Regions from separate parts of the Homo sapiens genome. Here region 2 is linked to region 1. The links are contacts of gene promoters, found by promoter capture Hi-C in human tissues and cell types (Jung and others, 2019). All regions are on one chromosome and are shown on one strand. The core of a region is centred on a gene start or on the middle of the fragment in contact, and the rest is flanking DNA. Distances in the headings are between cores, read along the strand shown. Region 1 holds the start of EIF4EBP2 (eukaryotic translation initiation factor 4E binding protein 2). Region 2 has its middle 9.4 kb from the start of SGPL1.

Region 1 (2,700 bases), core at 5-2,504:
TATTTGTAAACAGTTCCTGGTCATGCTTTGAAAAGCAATGCCAGGGAACCACCCTCTCTCTGGATTGCCTCTCTCTAGCCCCTTCCACAGGATCAAGCAACCACCCCACCCAACTGGGGTGTCCTTGACAAAGGTCCTTCAATCCATTTCCAAAGGCGTCGCTGCCGAAAGACACCCTACCTTAAGGCTGTCAGCACCCTACCACCCCCACCTACTTTCCCTTGGCTATTACTTGAGCTTTATTTTATCACGCTCTCCTCCCGGCCTGGGGACTCCCCTCACCCGTGGGGCCTCGTCCAGCAAAGTAAACAATGCTGTCAAAGCGGGATAACGCTGGGCGAGGCTTCCAGACTCCGCATTCCAGCCTCCTCCCGGTGTTCTAAAAGCAGCAAAAACAAGCCATCGCAGGATGCCAGGGCCGAATTCCTCTCCCAAAGTTCTTTTTTAAAAAGCCCCGGAGCCAGCTCCAAAATCAAGCATTAATTTGCACAATCTACGACAGGCAATGCAGACTGTAATGCAAGGCCAAGTGGAGCCAAATCCGCCCGGGAAGGAGGCAGAGAGGAGAGAGAGAACTGGGTCGAATGCGTAAGCCTGCCACGAAGCGGAAACAAGAGCTCTTTTTCGCGACAGGACAGCCACATTCCCGAGTGGGGCGCGCGCCGACTCGAGCTGCGGGCAAGAGCGAACACGAAGTAAAGGGTCCCGAACGCTCGGGCGGGCCCAAGGGCAGCGTCCCCGGGGCTTCGGTGGAGCTGGGGGCGGGGGCGAAGCGGCCGGGCACCGAGGCGCCGAGGAGTTAGAGGACCGCGGCGGGACACCGGGCGCGGCGGACGGCTGGCCGGCGCTCACCTCCCGGTGTGGTGGAGAAGAGCGTCCCCCCGGGCGTGGTGCAATAGTCATGAGGTAGCTGCGCGGCGTCGCTGATGGCCACGGTGCGGGTGGGGATGGCGCGGCTCTGGCTGGGCTGGTGGCCGCTGCCGGCTGACGAGGACATGGCTGTGGGCGCGGGCTCTCGGCTTTGTCCGGCGGGCAGGCGGCGGCGGCGGGGCCGGGGCTGCTTCGGCTCCTCAGGCGGACGGAAAAGCGCGCTCTGCGCGCTCCTCGCTCGCTTCCTCCCGTTCCCTCGTCCCGCTCCGCTCCCGCCGCCGCCCTCTCAGCCGCCGCCGCCGCCGCCGCTCGATCCTCCGGCCTCAGCCAGCAGCCTCAGGAGCAACAGCAGCGGCAGCAGCGGCGACGACGACGACCGGAAGCGGGCGAAGGCGGGAGCCAGAGGGAGTTGGGGAAGCTGGTCGGCCGGAGGTGACGTCGCCGCGGGGCGGGGCGAGGCAGTGAGGGGCGTGGCTGAAGTTGTTGAAGGGGGCGGGGACGAGGGGCAGGGCTGAGGAAGAGAGTGGCTTAACCCCAGCGAGCGGGAGAAGAGCCAGAGGGAGCGCGAGCTAAGTGTTTGTGAGCCTGGTGAAGGCGGACAAGGAAAACTTTCTTCTTATTGTTTGTCATTGTCGGTTAACACCACTTTACTTGAGCAGACTTGAGTTTCTCATGCATTCCTATGCATTAAAAATGTAATTTTACTTTTAATTGTTCATTATTAATTCAGGCACTACATGCACGATGTACTGTATTTTAAAAATCAAACAGAGCAGAAAGGTTTATGGTGCCACTTTCTCCCAGTTTCCGAACTCCCCTCAACCGCTGTACCAGTTAATTGTGTATCCTTCCAAAGACCATCACTATATACACACATAAAGCAAGATCTAAACATTAGGAAAAGGAAGAAACCAAGAGCCACTCATGGCAACAAGAATGAGTATTATTGTATTAGAGTTAAAATGAGGCACAGGAGAGGGCTTAGACCATGAGGTACCTGAAAAATCTAGATCTGGAACTCTATTCTTTCCTCGAGGGGTTCTCAAACTTTGGGTCTCAGTACCTCTACATTCTTGAAAATTATTGAGGATTTCCAAGAGCTTTTGTTTGTGTGGATTATATGTATTGATAATTATTGTATTAGAAATTAAAACTGAGCCGCTGCTGATCACTAGTGGGATTGTACCTGTGAATAGCCACTGCATTCCGGCCTGGGCAACAGAGTGAGGCCCTGTCTCTAAAAAACAACAACAACAACAACAACAAAAAACAAATTAAAACTGAGAATGTTTTAAATGTTTATTAATTCATAAAATAATAACCTATTACATGTTGACATTATATTTTTTAATTATCTAAAACAAATAGTGAGAACAGTGGCATTATTTTATATTTTTGCAAACGCTTTAATATCTGGCTTAATAGAAAACAGCTGTATTCTCATATCTGTTTCTGTGTTCAAGCTGTTGTAATGTGTTGATTCAACTATATGAAGAAAACCCAGCCTCACACAGGTATGTAGTTAGAAAAGAAGGTTGTCTCAGATCCCCGAGGGGCTCTCCAGATCACACTTTGAGAACCGCTGCACTAGGGCAGCACTACTTCTGCCCACAACATGCCCAAGGTGGGACTGGGAAGACACTCATGGGTAAGGCCAACATAGCTACCATCATTCCCATTTTGCAAATGAGAGAAATAAGGGTAAGAGAGGTTGAGGGGAAAACAGCTATTGCTTCACTGCTCAGAGGGTCAAACAGGTGCTTGGCAAGAACATAGACAAAAGAACTTACAACAGCCCAGGGCAGGCCAGGGCATTACATGGTACTGATT
Region 2 (3,023 bases), core at 97-2,596, 400 kb before region 1:
GTTGCCTGCAGCCCCTCTCCTTGACCAAGCTCTAGGGGAAGCACTGTTGCTTCAAAGGGGAATAATGCAGTCCCTGGGGCAGAAATGAGGCTGATCATGACTTCTCTCTCTCCTCTAGGCGCTGCAGGCAGGGGCAACAGGCAGGTCCCTCTTTATTCTTAATCAACAACAGGAAATAGAAAGCCAGCATAATTCTGGATAAAAACAGCCCATAATTTTATAGGACTATGTGGTTTTCTTGTCGCAATGTGCATAATTTATCTTGTGACCACAATGTAACTCACTGAATCACCTCTGTTTGTTAATTCCATCTTTTTCCTCCCAAGATAGAAAGGGGGAAAAAAATCTCTAGTTGTATGGTATTGGTCAAGAGATCTAAAAGATCATAAAGTGTAATACGACCAAGGAACTCCCAGAACTTTGGGCAACTCATTCAGTTGTTTTGAAGATTTTTTAAAATTGGGATACATTGTATGTACAGACAAGTCCACAAATCAAAGTGTAGAGCTAGATGAATATTGACATAGTGAACACCATTGTTCAGCACCACCCAGATCAAGAAACAGAATGTCACCAGTTCAATTGTTTTTTAAATAAATGCAAATGCAGATGGCAATCCTCCTGTCTGAGACCTCCCAGTCCTGTAGGAAACAGTGTTTTGATCTTCATCCAAAGAGCAACAGCCGTTGAGGTCTTTTCAGTCAAGGGACTGACAATATCACATTTGTGTTTTAGAACAATCCGTCTGCGTGGTATGGAGAATGGCTAGGAGAGAATTCATATGGGCAGAAAAGGTACTCAGCAAAGAATGAAAATAGTTGGTTCTAGGGTACAACAATGGCATAAGCTTAGAAGACAGACCTTTGGAAAGTGACAGAACAGATTAAAACAAGACTCCCAAAGCCACAGGCTACCCTGTGCCTGGCAAGCAGGCTCCCACATGTGCCCTCAAGCCAAGATTCCCAGGGAAGAAGTCACATTCAGAGCTCAGGGCAAACTAACCCATAGCTAGTGGGCTACACCTTTAACTTGTTGCAGCTGGATTGCGGTACCTCTCCCTTAACCACAGGATTCTTTCTGACTTGAAGGTTGTTTGGCAGAAGTAACCAGTAGAGTAATTGTGTTCATGCTGATGCTATTTCAATTTATCCTAAGTGCTATGGGTTGAACTGTGTCCCCCAACAATCCATGTGGTGAATATGGCCTTACTGGAAAATAGGGTCATGGCAGATGTAATGAGTTAAGATGAAGTATTACTGGAATAGGGTGCACCCCTAGCCTAATATGACTGGTGTCCTTATAAAATGGGGCAATTTGGACAGACATGCATAGAGGGGGAGCACCATGTGAAAATGAAGGTAGCAATCAGAGTGATGACTTTATAAGCCAAAGACCATCAAAGGTTGCCAACAAACCACCAGTAGCTAGGAGAGGGCCATGAAACGTGTTTTTCCTCATAGCTCTCAGAAGGAACCAGCCCTGCCAACACCTTGATCTCAGACTTCTATCTTGCAGAAATGGGAGACAATCCATTTCTGTTGTGCAAGCCACCCAGTTTGTGGCACTTTGTTACAACAGCCTGATTAGCAAGCTAACACAAATAGATTCTCACGCTAGCCCCAAACCTCAGTAGGTTGGCAATGGAGGAATGGGAAGGGCAGGGTGACATGACCATTCTCAGTGGCCTCATGTGCCCACTGACCACCCAAGTGTTGGGGCAGTGGTGGGGACTTGGAAGCCTGCAGAGCCCTCCAATAGCTGCTGCCAACTGTCTTTCTGGGAGACAAAGCAGCCTCAAGCTAGTCCTTGTGGGTCTGCTTGAGGGCACTGCTACATTCAGTTTTAGGGTATAAACCCACACCTGCCACTTAGGGACAGCTGTTGCAGGAGGTGCTGCAGAGGAAACCACTCACTCAGACATATTTCAAATGCCCACTCTTGCTATCCACTATCCATTGAATTCAAGTGCGTCAAATGTTTAAACCATGTGCCCTGGCTGCCCATCCAAACATCTAACTCAACATTCCTAGCTACTGCATCATCTTAGAACAAACTCAACTCATTTCATTTGAATATTCATATGAATCCCTTCAATACAGACATCATACAAGTCCTTTAAAACAAACTGTTTATAGCTAGTAGCCATCTCCTGACCTCAGCTGTCCCCCTCCAGGGAAAGCTTACAAAGTTTCTAGTTGGGAACAGAAGGCCCTTTGGGACTTGCCCAATGTTGTCTCAGGACATGACCTCACAACAGTAAAAACAAGTCAAAACCCAAGGCCTACTGGCAGAGAATCAGTTAAAGGACAAGCATAACTAAGTCAGCAGAGGTTACCTGGGCCTCACCCCAGCCTACATGGAAAGCACTTACCTGGTAAGCGCTCCGTAAATGGTAGCCCATAGCAATAATCATCTGTCAGTGGCTGTATTGATCTATCTGTGAATCAGATCATATCTGGAGAAGATAACCTTGAAGGGAAAGACACCATAAGAAGCCCAGTTAACTGAATGCCTTTCTTGAACTTGGCCACAGTGACCTCTACGATCAGCCGCTGCTTCTCTCCACCTTCATCTCCCCCATTTCCACCTCACTCTCAGACTTTATGTCCCAACTATACTCACAGTGACTATCTGGGATACTTTTGAAACTAAGGACATATTATTAAGTTTTCTGGGACAACAAGCATAAATTGGTCTGTTCTAACAATCTGAGTCTTCTAGTCTCCCTAGCCATCTAGAACAACTTAGAGTTTCCATAACATGCCCTGGGCTTTTATAGCTCCAGACTTTTGCATGTGCTATTCCCTTTTCTTGGAACATCCTTCTCTCCTTGGTCTACTTTGCAACCTTCCCCAAGACCCCTAGGTAGGCTCGAATTCTCTTTTCCTGTGTCTCCATTTCCCTAACACTTAGCACATTAAGTCTTAATTTCTCTGGCTCCCTCAAGACCAGTAACCACTCGAGGATGATATTATGTCTTTTCACCTGTATGTTCTCTAATCTATTCCGTGTTACAGACATTC

What was found. The method cuts DNA at HindIII sites, captures the fragments that hold promoters and counts their contacts. A contact is called where the count stands out against the background at its distance.
Region 2: a contact is called between a fragment that was not itself captured here and the fragment with the promoter of EIF4EBP2 in region 1, in 1 of the 25 tissues and cell types used here (heart left ventricle).

Annotation. Positions count from the first base shown.
Region 1 is chr10:70,402,699-70,405,398 of GRCh38, reverse strand. It overlaps EIF4EBP2 (eukaryotic translation initiation factor 4E binding protein 2), which reads right to left and starts at 1,254. Exons shown (of 3, transcript NM_004096.5): 1 at 853-1,254. The coding sequence starts at 997. RefSeq lists silencers at 953-1,162, 1,193-1,382. The HindIII fragment of the contact is 23,735 bases long and covers 1-2,700 here.
Region 2 is chr10:70,805,000-70,808,022 of GRCh38, reverse strand. No RefSeq gene overlaps it. Among named protein-coding and RNA genes, the nearest start is that of SGPL1, 9.4 kb to the left of the region's middle. The HindIII fragment of the contact is 4,615 bases long and covers 1-3,023 here.